Linked DNA regions of Homo sapiens: regions 1, 3, 4 and 5 are each linked to region 2. The links are contacts of gene promoters, found by promoter capture Hi-C in blood cells and fetal thymus (Javierre and others, 2016). All regions are on one chromosome and are shown on one strand. The core of a region is centred on a gene start or on the middle of the fragment in contact, and the rest is flanking DNA. Distances in the headings are between cores, read along the strand shown. Region 1 holds the start of SRSF3 (serine and arginine rich splicing factor 3). Region 2 holds the start of FGD2 (FYVE, RhoGEF and PH domain containing 2). Region 3 overlaps TBC1D22B (TBC1 domain family member 22B). Region 4 overlaps TBC1D22B (TBC1 domain family member 22B). Region 5 overlaps RNF8 (ring finger protein 8).

Region 1 (2,833 bases), core at 232-2,731, 410 kb after region 2:
GAAGAAAAAAACAGCTTCCTTGGAACGTTGAGAACAACTGGAGGAGCATTTACCACCATCTGGGCCGTGAGTTAAGAGACTTAACCTGTTATTTCATTTAATCCCCAAAATAAAGCATTTCTAGAAAAACAGAAGAGAATTCTGTTGGGGACTCAAAACTAAATAAAACAATGATGAAGAAAGCTAGTCCTTAAGGTTATACTACCAGGCAAGCGATTCAAAGTACCTACATAAGCCAAAACTTACCAGCTTTAATAAAAATAAGGCCAACGATTTTCACTTTTAAAAAAATGCCCATGGACCGGGCGCGGCGGCTCACACCTGCAATCCCAGAACTTTTGGGAAGCCGAGGCGGGCGAATCACGAGGTCAGGAGTTCGACCCAGCCTGGCCAATATGGTGAAACCCCGTCACAACTAAAAATACAAAAATTAGCCGGGCATGGTGGCGCACACCTGTAGTCCCAGCTACTCGGGAGGCTGAGGCAGAACAATCGCTTGAACCCGCGAGGCGGAGGTGGCAGTGAGCCGAGATCGCGCCACTGCACTCCAGCCTCGGCGACAGAGCGAGATTCCATCGCCAAAAAAAAACCACAAATAAATAAATAAATAAATGCCTATTTTGGTCATTTGGAACTATAGGAACAAGGCTAGTATCAAATGTCATTAGATAGACCAGAGTCTTACGCGGTAAAAATTTATCAAGCAACGAGACCAACTTTACAGTTTTTTAAAAAATGTAAACTCATAGTAGCACTTATTCACAGTAGCCCAAAGATGTTAACCCAAATGTCCATCAACAGAAACGGATAAGCAAAATGTGGTATAGACATAAAATGAGTATTATTCAGAATGATGTACTGACAAATCCTCCAACGTTGGAAAATCTTGAAAACATTACGCTAAGTTAAAGAAGCCAGACATAAAAGTACACGATTCCATAAATACTAAATATCTAAAATAGCTAAGTTCAGAGAGACAGGAAGATTAGTGGTTGCTAGGGACTAGAGGAAGGGGGACAGGGAATCTGGGAGTAAGTGCTCAATGGGTAGTAGTCTCCTGCGGGGGGAGGTGACGGAAATGTTTTGGAACTACGTGTAAGTGATGATTACACAACACTGAATATACTAAATACCACTTAAAGATAATTTCACTTTAATAAAAAATTACAAAGAGATATTTGCTACTAAAAAATTTACTGCACTTTGGGGACTTATTTTTTTGTTCTTCCTTGGCGGACTTGTATTTGATAAAGCTTTATTACTGAGTCACTTCGACGATGAATCTGATAAACTTGTAGACCAGTTTCAATTACATAAAAACCATCTACTCAATAATTCAGCTGAAGTGCTTTCCATAAACACCACGTTCTTCTTACTCTGGGCTTGTCTAATTAAAATATCCAGTCCAGACACATCCTATTTGCCGTGACCACACCCTGTGCCCAGGAGTAAGTTCTAAGACCAAACCACTGGTGAAAATTTTTAAAAACACTGCTGGCACCTGTCTTAAGCCTCCATTTTAATGGGAAGCGATGAAAGAACGAATCTTAAGTTCAAGGAAGATCTTTCGGTCTTAGAAAAAGGTGATTAGATTCAGGCTGCAAAATCTGAAACTACATGAAAGTAAGGTGACTACGGGGGCCATTTAATATGAACTGAAAGGTCCGGTCTTGGTTAGTGACTTTACAAAAACATTCTGAGAAGCTTCCCAATTAAATGAGGGGCCAAAAAAAAAAAAGGCGCCATAAAAATAAAAAGGCCGTGACCTGGAATACAACTCGGCTATCGGCTCCCCTTTGTGGTTCCCAACTCCCAGGTAACCCCCATCCTGGCTCATGCCCCAATGAGGAATATAAAGACTTCCACTCCAAGACTAGGAAACCCTCCGATGGGCCGGGAGCCCCCGCCACCGCCCCGTGCTGAACGTCACAAAATGGCGGCGGCGCCTCTTTGTCTCAATCTGGCGCCGCCATTGGGCCTGGCTCCTTGGTACTGTTAAATTCCATTTCCACCTCATTCCCTCTTTCGCTGGTCTCTTACCGAGATCTAGGGTTAAAAAATGCGGCGGCTCAAATCCACACGCTCCGATGAGTCTTCCCGCTTTCCTCCGGCCCAACACCAACCAACTCTCTCACTCACCCGGCGTCCACGAAATGGCGGACCACCGCCTTCTCCTCGCCTTTATTTATACGCCATACTGGAATCACATGATTGGACGGGCTCCCCCAATGAGAAGCAGAAGAGGCCGTGACGTATGGCTACAAACGCAGCGAGAGCCGCGGTTGCTGGGAGCGCGCTCTGGCGGTTGCGCCGGGTGGGTGGAGACGTGCGTCGGCGCGCGCTCGTTGTAACAGGCCTGGTGCTCCCTCGAGCGTTCCTCCCGGTCTGTCGACCTCCAGGTTACCCACAGACTCCTCTTCCTCACCTCCAAATAGGCTAGGGCTTCATAAACAGCACCGTCGCCGTCACGCTCAAACACTAATAGGAGCCGTTGGCCCCTAACAAGATTAAGAGATGAATTAATTAAGTGCTTCACCCTTGTGAGCGGTTAGTCTGGAACTAAGAGCATCGCGTTTACAAACAGGTCACGGAGCTGTTTGTGACCCAGCTGGCACCAGACTGTGGCCGCCTAGATTCCACACTGAAGGAAAAGCCTGGTTTGGAAAGTTTGCCCAACTCTTGCTGGTTTCTCGTCTCTCAAGCAAACTTGCAGGACTTGGCGCCGACAGCAAAGGAGACCGGTCAGGTGACCTGGAAACTATCACCTTTAGCAAACACCCGGAAAGGGAAGTTTCTGAAGAAGATTGAATGTAAATTCTGGCCCCCAAGCAAA
Region 2 (2,700 bases), core at 201-2,700:
GCCACCCATGTCCCTCCTTCAGGAATGAGGCCTCCCCACACCATCCCCACCAGCTACTGGTAGTACTGGGGGCTGCCGGGTAATTTATTGGCTGAGTCCCTCTCTGGGAATCACTCTCTGGAAGAGAGAGCTGCCTCACCCAGAGTCTCTTGTCCAGTCCACATGGAGATACAAATACCCAGCCCTCTTCCTCAGCTGGAACAACCGAGAGGCATCCCAGCTCCAGAGCTCCCTGGGACAGGCTGAGGCCTCTGTGGCAGGTGCACTGCAGTTCAGCATCTCCCCCTGCCCGGCCCTGCTTCCCTCACACCCACAGCTGTTGTTCCCAAAAGCTCTCCCTGATAAATCACCTGAGGCAAACCTCTGTCTGAGTCTATTTCCAGAAAACCCTACCTGGGACAGCCCCTAACACAGTCCTGAGCTTAAGAAATGCCTGCAGAATGGATTGATGCCACACATAACACACAACACACACATACACACACGCGCACACACACAAACACACATGCTCCCAGGGCTACCAATGACTCCACGCATCTGGCCCAGCCTTTTCCCTCCAGACAGACGCCCCAGCATTGCCCCAGATACTTAAAGCACTTGGCATCCTCACCTCTCTGTGTCTCCATTTCCTCATCTATAAGACGGGAACAGAAACAGAATCTACCCCTATTAGGCTGTTCGATGACTAAATTAAATAAGTAAGGACATGAACTTAGAGTAGGGAGTACCCCATCAGGATGCTGCCCGTACATCCTGGTTTGCCTCATACGGTCCCAGCTTTACCTGTAATGCCTCCCCCACAACCACCACATTTTATTTGGCATTTACTTTCAGTTTCAATTGTGTGCTGAATGATAAATTATATGGTTATCCTAATCATAGGGCGTAAATTCTTGGTGAGTATCAGCTACCTTTTCTGAGAGGTGCTGGCAGGCACTGGGTGGGGTCCTGTGCCCACACACAGGCTTTGGTCTGCCCATGCTTGCTCGTAACCACACCTGTCTGGACTCTCCCAACACACACTGGCACTCTCACCCCTGCCTGGCTCCTGGTGTCCCACCGACACTCTCCCATGCTCCAAGGAATCCGTGACCGAGGAACGCGGGGCTGCCCCTGCAGGAGGAGGGTCCGGGGCAGGGCCCAGGGAGAGAGCTGCCAGAAAGGCTGGAGGGTGGCTGCCAGCCCACCATGGTGACCCTCCCACCCCAGCTGCCCATACCTGCTATTCTCAAACACAGTGACCAGGTTGGACACAGATGCCAGCTTCTCCTCACTTGCCCCCTTCATCCTGCCGGTTTCCGGGGTGGATCTCAGCTACCCTCGAAGCAGAGAGAGAGGCCTCCAGCCAGCACACTCAGCCACGCTGGCCTGGGACAGATAGGCTAAATCACCCATGAATCTGTTCTGATCTTTCTTGAGGGCTCAGAAGGTCGGCTCTTGGCTTCAGAGTGAAGAAAGAGGAAGTGGTCCCAGAGCCACAGCCCTGCAGGGGAAAGGCCAGCACTCCCGCAGTGGGAGGAGCCTGCTCGGGCCCCACCTCTCCCTCAGGGGGGCTGACCTTTCACACCTGTAGACCCCCATTCCAGAAGCCACCTAAGAGGTGGCAACAGGGCCCAGAGGTAGCTTCTGGAGCCCAGTCTGGGCTGGTGCAGTGGTTTGCACCTCTAATTCCAGTGCTTTGGGAGGCCGAAGCAGGAGGATTGCTTGAGCCCAGGAGTTCAAGACCAACCTGGGCAACATAGTGAGACACCGTCTCTTAAAAAAAAAAAAAAAAAAAAAGGCCACCCGGAGCCAGACCCTTGGCTGGTTTCTTGGCCTAGTGGTTCCAGCCAACCACACTTTCTCCTTCAGAAGGTCCAGTGGCTTTTACTTGGCCTCTTTCCCAGCACCTTCTTTTCTGCATCTGCCCCTGCTCACAGCTGTAAGGAAATAATGTCTTTTTTATTCTTTAGAGACAGAGTGCGGTGGTGGGATCTCGGCTCACTGCACCCTCTGCCTCCCGGTTCAAGCGATTCTCCTGCCTCAGCCTCCTGAGTAGCCGGGATTACAGGGCCTGCCACCACGCCCTGCTAATTATTTGTATTTTTAGTAGAGATGGGGTTTCACCATGTTGCTCAGGCTGGTCTTGAACTCCTGGCCTCAGGTGATCCTCCTGCCTCGGCCTCCCAAAATTCTGGGATTACAGATGTGAGCCACTGTGCCTGGCCAGGAAACAGCATGTTTTATTTAAAATAATCACAAACCTGGTAAGGGTGGCAGGGAGTACTGTGATGTTCCCACCTCCCCACTGGGGTTCTCTCATTTTAGTTGTTGCTGTCATCACCTCATTGCCCCAAGGGAGGGCAGTTTCCTCCCTGAAACTCAGAGGATAATAATAGCTAACATGCACTCTTTTTCATGCTTATGAGTATTTTCTTATTAATCCTATAACAACCTCATGAGGTAGGTACTATTCCTATCCCCACTTTACATAGGAAGAAACAGAATCAGAGAGGTTAAGTAACTTGCCCAAGGTCACCCAGGAAGAATACAAGAGAAGTTGGATTTCCAAAGCAAAAGTGGGTGTCCTACAGTTCCAGCAAAGGTTCGTTGGGAGCCTGGATGACCATGTTCTTGCTGCTCCATCCCCAGGCCTCCCTGATCCCAGGACACTGGGTTGTCTTTGCCTGAGGCCTCCTTTACCACCTGGTCTCCCGGCCC
Region 3 (2,756 bases), core at 234-2,733, 270 kb before region 2:
GTTGGCAGGGACGTCCGATGTCGTTGACTGGGACCGTTCTGGTTTTACTCTCAGCTTGCTGTGGTTTTCTAGAACTTGGGCTGCAGTTGCCAAAGCAACTTTTGAGTTCAGAGTTTGGAAAGAAGGTGAGGAAAAGTCCTCTTCCTCATCATCGCCAATGTCCCAAGCATCACTGGTATTCCGTGCAAACTCATGAAAACTGGAGGCCTTCTTATTCTTCAGAGGAACTGTGTTGACTTTTGATCGTTCTTTAATGAAACTTCAAGAAAGGAGACACGATTACCAAGGAATGGCCTGACACATCTGACCACCTACATTTGCTTATTATTGTAATATTAATAAATTACAAACTACCACATACATAATCATTAGCTTCTTCAAACAAAAATTGCCCACATCCATTCTTCATCTAGATACATCCAGACCAGCCTGAGATCGCAGAGACAGATGTAGCAGAGACAGCAATGGTCACCAAATATCCCATGTGCTCTTGTATACTTCCTGGCCCCCATACACTTAGGTGAGGCCATATGACCAATACCGGCCAATGGACTGAGGAGAAATGAGGCGATTACTTCCAGGCAAAGTAGAGAATAGGTGTCAGTTCTGTATAACCTCTCTCTTTTTTTTTTTTGAGACAGAGTTTCTGTCACCTAGGCTGGAGTGCAGTGGTATGATCATGGCTCTCTGCAGCCTTGACCTCCTGGGCTCAAGTGATCCTCCCACCACAGCCTCTTGAGTAGCTGGGACTACAGGTGTACACCACGATGCCTGGCTAATTTTATTATTATTTTTTGTAGACACAAGGTTTCACTATGTTGCCCAGGCTGGTCTTGAACTCCTGGGTTCAAGTGATCCTCCCACCTCGGCCTCCCAAATCGTTGGGGTTACAGGTGTGAGCCACCATGCCTGATCCATAGCTTTTCTTCTATCATGATGCACTGGCAAGATGGTAGAACCTCCTTCAGCCTAGGTAACTGAGTGGCTATGTGGAGCAGCAGTAACTATGTCGAGGAGCCTGCCCTCTGCCCTTACCCCACCCCCATTTTAGACATGTAGCATGAGCAGGAAATAAACCTTTACTATGTTAATCCACAGAGATTTGACAGTTGATCTGCTATCACTTAGAGCAGCACATAAACTACTGGCAGAAAACAAGATAATTTTAGGTAGTCCACATATGTAGCATTAAACATTAAGTCCCAAAATAAAAAAGTTGTTCCATTTTTTATTCTGTTAAAAGTTCTTCTGCTGGCCTTGAGAAGAAAGTTGAAGTTTGGTGCTACTCTGTCTTTAAGACCATTTTCTAACTAGGTGCCAAAGTGACGGCAGCCTCAGAATCAATATATTTGCTAGCAACAAGATCTGCCTCTGGATTTAATAAGATTGTTTGGTTTTTCACTGAGTATTTATATGGTTCTTTTCTTTTAAGAGTCAGGGCCTTGCTCTGTCACCCAGGGTGGAGTGATGGAGTGCAGTAGAGAAATCTTGGCTTACTGCAGTCTTGAACTCCTAGGCTCAAGCAATCCTTCCACCTCAGCTTCCTGAGTAGCTGGGACTATAGGCGCACACCACCATGTCTAGCTTTTTTTTTTTTGAGAGATAAGGGTCTCATTATGTTGCTCTCGCTAGTCTCAAACTCCTGGCCTCAAGTGATCCTCTCACCTGAGCCTCCCAAATTGCTGGGATTACAGGCATGAGCCACCACGCCCAGAAGTTCTTCTTATTTATAACAAATGTTGTTTTCTATTTATAGAAATGATAATATTTGTTCTTAAAACAAGACTATTTGAGTGGCCAGGCACAGTGGCTCACGCCCGTAATCCCAGCACTTTGGGAGGTGGAGGCAGATGGATCACTTGAGGTCAGGAGTTTGAGATCAGCCTGGCCAACATGGTGAAACCCCATCTCTACTAAAAAAATACAAAAATTAGCCAGGCATGGTGGCGCATGCCTATAATCCCAGCTACTCGGGAGGCTGAGGGAGGAGAATTGCTTAAACCTGGGAGGTGGAAGTTGCAGTGAGCCAAGATCACACCACTGACTCCAGCCTGGATGACAGTGTGAGTGACACTCCGTCTCAAAAAAAAAAAAAAAAAGAACTATAGGAGACAAGTACCCAAATCAAAGAAAATAAAACTGAGGCTGCACGTTCTGGACTCATCCACCATGGCTGCTTCTCCTTTGTAAAAGGGGACCTGATCTACCACCTGCAGTACCACCTCAGGGGATTCGCTGTCGAGAACAAACATGCAGCTGTGTAAGAAAGATCTGTCATCTAATATAACACCCAGGAGTATGTGGTTATTACTGTTTTTCCTCCTTAGAGGCCACGTGTACATTAAGATTGCATAAATACTGGATGTTCTGAGAATTCTTTAATCAATCATCAAATCAAGAAGTTGAATTTTAACTCAGGTCAAAGAGCTGACTTGAAGCTGGTGGCCTAACACAGGGTGACACACACGCACACCAGGACCGGATGAACACACTACAGGGAGAGACGGGCCAGGCTGCCTGTCAGGTTCTAACAGGTGCTGACTTCTGAGAAAAATGAAGGCCGTTAACCAGCTGAGGGGTGGGTACCAGGGTGTGTGTTGTATTTTTCTTCATACGCTTTTTATGCATTTGAAGGTTTTCGTTTTATATATATATATATTTTTGTTTGTTTTGAAAAGGAGCCTTGCTCTGTCACCCAGGCTGGAGTGCAGTGGTGCGATCTAGGCTCACTGCAACCTCCACCTCCTCGGTTCAGG
Region 4 (2,868 bases), core at 127-2,626, 290 kb before region 2:
CAGCTCCATCCATACATAGGAAAAGGTCTGGAAGAACACACAACAAGAGGTTAACAACTGTAGTTATCTTGGAGGTGGGTGTGTGTTTGTTAACACTTCTATATTGTTTTGATTTTTTTTTTAAATTATACTTTAAGTTCTGGGATACATGTGTAGGACGCGCAGGTTTGTTACATAGGTATACACATGCCATGGTGGTTTGCTGCACCCATCAACCTGTCATTTACATTACGTATTTCTCCTAATGCTATCTCTCCCCTGGGCCCCCCAACCCCTAACAGGCCCTGGTGTGTGATGTTCCCCTCCCTGTGTCCATGTGTTCTCATTGTTCAACTCCCACTTATGAGTGAGAACATGTGATATTTGGTTTTCTGTTCCTGTGTTAGTTTGCTGAGAATGATGGTTTCCAGCTTCATCCATGTCCCTGCAAAGGACATGAACTCATTCTTTTTTATGGCTGCATAGTATTCCATGGTGTAAATGTGTCACATTTTCTTTATCCAGTCTATCATTGATGGGCATTTGGGTTGGTTCCAAGTCTTTACTATTGTGAACAGTGTTGCAATAAACATACATGTGCATATATCTTTACAGTAGAATGTTGTTTTGATTTTTTAATAAACATACTTCTACTACAATTTTTTTTAGAAAGATAAGCAATAAGAAAGGCACTGCCTGCTTTAGAGCATTAAATATAATAGGTGAAGCCATTAGAAGTCCAAGGACAAGGATTGAAGTTGAGACACCACCAAGTCATATAGAGAGCACAGGTATTAAAGCCAAGCACAGGTATTTGAGTTCAAGAAGCTCATTAGACCCCTGAATCTTGGATATTTCACCTTATAAAATGGCTTGATACATCTACCTTAAAGAGATATTGGGCCCTACTAAAGGAAATCAGTATGTCCAAGTTCTTTGCAAATAGTAAAGTACTTTAAAAACCAGTGTAATGTTACTGCTTGGCCAGAAAAACAAGGGCTACAGCTACAAACTCCTAAGGGAAAGAGAGATGGATGGGAGCTGGAGGATTAAGAAAGACAACCAACTATAATACGCAGCTCTGATTTGGACCCTGATTCAAACTGTTGAATAGATTTATGAATACGACTGTATATTAGATTACATAAAGGAGCTATTACTATTTTTTAGATGTGATAATTGCATTATGGCTGTGTGTTTTAAAAAATGTCTTTGGCCAGGTGCAGTGGCTCACGCCTGTAATCCCAGCACTTTAGGAGGCTGAAGCAGGTAAATGGCTTGAGTCCAGGAGTTCAGGACCAGCCTGGGCAACATGGCAAAACCCTGTCTCTACAAAAAATACAAAAATTAGCCAGGCATGGTGGTGCAAGGCTATAGTCCCAACTACTTGGGAGGCTGAAGTGGGAGGATTGCTTGAGCCCGGGAGATGGAGCTTGCAGTGAGCTGAGATCGTGCCACTGCACTCCAGTCTGGGCGACAGAGTGAGACTGTCTCAAAAAAAAAACCAAAAAATTATAATATATATATATGTGTGTGCACGTGTGTGTATGTGTGTGTGTATACATATATACTTTTCAGAGATACATATAAAAAATTTATGCATAAAATGATACGATGTTTGACATTGAGATTTGCTTCAAAATAATTCACAATGGTGAGGGAGTAGAGAATGGAGAGAGGTGGTAAGACTAGGATCAGGCATGGTGGCTCATGCCTGTAATCCCAACACTTTGGGAAGCTGAGGCAGGAGGATGCTTGAGCTCAGGGGTTCAAGACGAGCCTCGGCAATGTGGCAAAAATTTATCTCTAAAAAAAATACAAAAAATTAGCCAAATGTGATGGCACTCCCCTGTAGTCCCAACTATCCAGGACGCTGAGGTGAGAGGATCACTTGAGCCAGCAGATTGAGGCTACAATGAGCCATGATCATGCCACTGCACTCCAGCCTGGGTGACAGAGTGAGACCCTGTCTCGATCAATCAATCAATCCAGCCTGGGTGACAGAGTGAGATCCTGTCTCAATTAATCAATCAATCAACAAATAAATAATACTTTATTTTTTATTTATTATTATTTTTTGAGATGGAGTCTCCCTCTGTTGCCCAGGCAGGAGTACAGTGGTGCGATCTCAGCTCACTGCAACATCTGCCTCCTGGGTTCAAGCAGTTCTCCTGCTTCAGCCTCTCCAGTAGCTGGAATTACAGGTGCATGCCACCACACCCCACTAATTAGTAAATAATATTTTATTGTTAAAAAGTGCTAACAATCATCTGAGCCTTCAGCAAGTCATAATCTTTTTGCTAGTGGAGGATCTTGCCTCAATGTTGATGGCTGCTGACTGACCAGGGTGATGGTTGCTAAAGGCTGGGCTGGCTGTGACAATTTCTTAAACAAGACAGTAATGAAGTTGGCCACATTGATTGATTTTTCCTTTCACAAAAGATTTCTCTGTAGCATGTGACTCTGTTTGATAGCATTTTACCCACGGTAGAACTTCTTCCAAAATTGAAGTTAGTCTCTTGCCTGCCACCATGTAAGACATGACTCTGCTCCTCATTTGTCTTCTGCTATGATTGTGAGGCCTCCCCAGCCATGTGGAACTTTGGCTGGGGAAGAGACCAGGGAATCGATGGATTTGGAGAGGAGCCAGGAATTAAATCTCAGCTAATGAACCTTATTTGATCTGTAAGAACCTTGATGACAGTGCCATTGATAATAGTAAACTCAACTGCAATTGTGTTTCTCTTATTATTTGGATGAATATCAGTGGAGGAAACGGAGACTCAGAAGACATGCCAGCAGAAGTTATTACTTCAGTAATTATTGGAAATCTTAGCTGGCTGACCTTGCACTTGACAAAAATGTAAAGCTTAAAATAAAACCAGACTT
Region 5 (2,709 bases), core at 117-2,616, 350 kb before region 2:
ACCGCGCCCGGCTCCCTGCATATTCTTCTTAGTGCACAAACGACCTCTTTAATGTCCCATATCACAACCTTAACTGGGAACTTTAAACCAAAGTTAGCTAAAACTGCCCTCTTCTCTTCTCTTTAAAATCTTTCAGAATGCCTGTCCTCCTCAGTCCCTCAAAGACCACCACGACTCACTGACCTAATCTATTCCTCCCCACAAACTCTTATCTCAGTATTCACAATACTATCCAACCAACTACTCAACCCATAACCCAGAAGCCATCTTTGATTCATCTCTGTCCCTCATCCCCACATTGAAATCACTGGTAAATTATATGGGCTATAATTCAAATATGTCCTAAGTCTGTTCATTCCTATCTCTGCAGCCACAGCCTTAGTCCAAACCACCTGGCCTCCTACTGTTTCTGTTCTCACTCTAGCCCCCATAAGCTTTATAATAGTAACTGGAATAGAAATGTAAAAATTTTAAATCAGGTCATTTTCCTTCTTTCCTTAAAACTGTCCAATCATTCAAACTTCCTTCCATGGCCTATAAGACCCTGAATGTCCTGAGCCCTTCTACTCTTTAGTCTTAACTCATACCATAGTGCCAACACTAGCTGCTCCAGCCCCTCAAACTTTTTTGTTGTTGTTGTTCCTTAAGCCCATCTCCCCGAAGTGCCAGCCTACCTGAGGGTCTTTTCACTTAGCCCCTCTGCTAAGAACACTCTTCTCTCAGATCTTGCACAGGCTCCTTATCTTTCATGTTCCAGCTACTCATAAGCCTACTCTGATTACCTCTGTCTAAAGTTGGTTGTCTGCTTCCCATCATATTTCTTCAGTTATTAGGAAGTACTTATCACAGACCAAAATTATCTTGTTTATTTTACTTTTCCCCTCTGTCCCCGTAATAGAATATAAATTAGATAAGCAGGGACTTTATCTGTCTTGTTTACCACTGTGTTTCTATACCTGGCATAGTGTTCAGTTAAGTATTTGAGAATGAATGAAAGAATAAAGAGGTCTTGCATATGAGTCCTCAAGATTTTAGGGTGGGTGTTTTTAGGTCAGAAGTTAGAGACTGTATTACCATTGGAAAATATGGAGCAGCAGTTGGAACTCATACAGTCTCACTTGTTTCTCTTTAAAATGTTGTGGTGATCACTCCACCAACACTGAGCACAAAGTTTTTCAGTTCTTTCACACTCTGCCAGAATTATATTAATTATAGAAGTTCCTCTGAATACACATATCTGTTAAAAATGGAATGGCTAGGGATTTATCTGTCGTCCATATTCAGTAAAATTTCTATTTAGGTAGCTTTATCTCTAAGAGAGGAAGCATCTCATATTACATGCTAATACTTGAGGGGAGACAGCCAGACTGCCATTGTGAGTAGCCAGGGGAAAACAGTACCAAAACAGTAGAAGAGTGCCTTTTCCTGACATTGCCTCCAACAGACTCTGAACCCAGAAAAAGGAATCATTCTTTTACATCCTTCCCTGCACTGCCTGGTCTTAGAATTTACCTTGGTACTACTGATATTTCACCTATACTGTAGTTAAAGAGTGCAGTGAGGTTACCTGGAAATCTCAGGACCACTCAACATAACACTGAATTTCCCGTGGGAACTGACTGACGACCCATATGTGAGGGGTTGTTTTCATTTACAATAGTTTTGCAAGCCTTTGAGCTTACACACATTATTGATCTAAAAGATCATCCTGTCTTTGCCCACCTTCACTAAGACTATCTCTTTCCTCCTGGGCACAATTCCTACTGTTTCTCAAATAACAAGTAAATCTGGCCAGGTGTGGTGGCTCACACCTGTAATTCCAGCACTTTGGGAAGCCCAGGCGGGCGGATCACATGAGGCCAGGAGTTCGAGACCAGCCTGGCCAACATGGCGAAACCCCACCTCTATTGAAAACACAAAAAGTAACTGGGCATAGTGGTGCATATCTGTAATCCCAGCTACTTCGGAGGCTGAGACAGAAGAACCACTTGAACCAGGGAGGTGAAGGTGTGATCACACCACTGCACTCCAGCCTGGGTGACAGAAGGAGTACTCTGTCTCAAAACAAAACACCCCACAAAAAAGCCCCCAAACCAGTAAATATAACCATCCTTTCCCTTTTTTCCCTTGGGGCAGAAAACTTAATGAAAACTAAATACAAGAGAAGAAAAGGGGAGAGAAGGTTCTGTTGTTTTCCCCAAAGGCCTAGATACTTTATAGTACCTGAGAACTAGCTAATTTGCAATAAATCTCTACTTGTTTTTCCACCAAACTCTATGCATTGCTTTAACAAGCTTAAAGCCACTTAATTAGACAATTTACTACAGTGTTCCCATCAATGAAATGAAAGGAACCCTGTTTTATTATTTTATCCACAACATCTGAGACTAAGAACTGGAAAGGCAGGGAACTGACCTACCTTTGCTGTTATGTTATTAGCGTATCTTTTAAAATCTTGTGCAAAACAGCTTGTGCTATGATTTGGGGACCATAACAATAAGTACAACTTCTTCTCTTGCCTTTGATTCAGACTTCTTTTCAGGCTATGCTACGACCTGACCTTGCAGGCAGCCAAGCCTGGCAGGCTTCTCCTACACACAGGTCCCTGAAGCCAGCCACAGTCTTACCACTGAGTTTATATGGGTCCCTCCCCATGCAACTGGCCCCATAAAGAACTATCAAATGGTTTAGAATATGTCTAAGACTGCT

Evidence for each region. The method cuts DNA at HindIII sites, captures the fragments that hold promoters and counts their contacts. A CHiCAGO score of 5 or more calls a contact.
Region 1: a fragment that was not itself captured here is called in contact with the fragment with the promoter of FGD2 in region 2 in 1 of 17 cell types (naive B cells); the score reaches 5.3 in naive B cells.
Region 3: a fragment that was not itself captured here is called in contact with the fragment with the promoter of FGD2 in region 2 in 1 of 17 cell types (activated CD4 T cells); the score reaches 5.6 in activated CD4 T cells.
Region 4: a fragment that was not itself captured here is called in contact with the fragment with the promoter of FGD2 in region 2 in 2 of 17 cell types (activated CD4 T cells and erythroblasts); the score reaches 7.0 in activated CD4 T cells.
Region 5: a fragment that was not itself captured here is called in contact with the fragment with the promoter of FGD2 in region 2 in 1 of 17 cell types (erythroblasts); the score reaches 5.0 in erythroblasts.

What each region holds. Positions count from the first base shown.
Region 1 is chr6:36,593,689-36,596,521 of GRCh38, reverse strand. SRSF3 (serine and arginine rich splicing factor 3) reads right to left here and starts at 2,160. Exons shown (of 6, transcript NM_003017.5): 1 at 2,041-2,160. RefSeq lists enhancers at 1,873-2,102, 1,703-2,384, 2,493-2,652. The HindIII fragment of the contact is 451 bases long and covers 1,256-1,706 here.
Region 2 is chr6:37,004,405-37,007,104 of GRCh38, reverse strand. FGD2 (FYVE, RhoGEF and PH domain containing 2) reads right to left here and starts at 1,450. Exons shown (of 16, transcript NM_173558.4): 1 at 1,220-1,450. The coding sequence starts at 1,287. RefSeq lists an enhancer at 1,305-1,434 and a silencer at 1,690-1,852. The HindIII fragment of the contact is 9,965 bases long and covers 1-2,700 here.
Region 3 is chr6:37,276,807-37,279,562 of GRCh38, reverse strand. It overlaps TBC1D22B (TBC1 domain family member 22B), which reads right to left. Exons shown (of 13, transcript NM_017772.4): 3 at 1-259. Among named protein-coding and RNA genes, the nearest start is that of TMEM217B, 20 kb to the right of the region's middle. The HindIII fragment of the contact is 4,484 bases long and covers 1-2,756 here.
Region 4 is chr6:37,295,452-37,298,319 of GRCh38, reverse strand. All of the region lies in intron 8 of TBC1D22B (TBC1 domain family member 22B), which reads right to left. Among named protein-coding and RNA genes, the nearest start is that of TMEM217B, 39 kb to the right of the region's middle. The HindIII fragment of the contact is 2,948 bases long and covers 1-2,850 here.
Region 5 is chr6:37,356,119-37,358,827 of GRCh38, reverse strand. The region is part of intron 1 of RNF8 (ring finger protein 8); the gene reads right to left. Among named protein-coding and RNA genes, the nearest start is that of RNF8, 3.5 kb to the right of the region's middle. The HindIII fragment of the contact is 1,860 bases long and covers 437-2,296 here.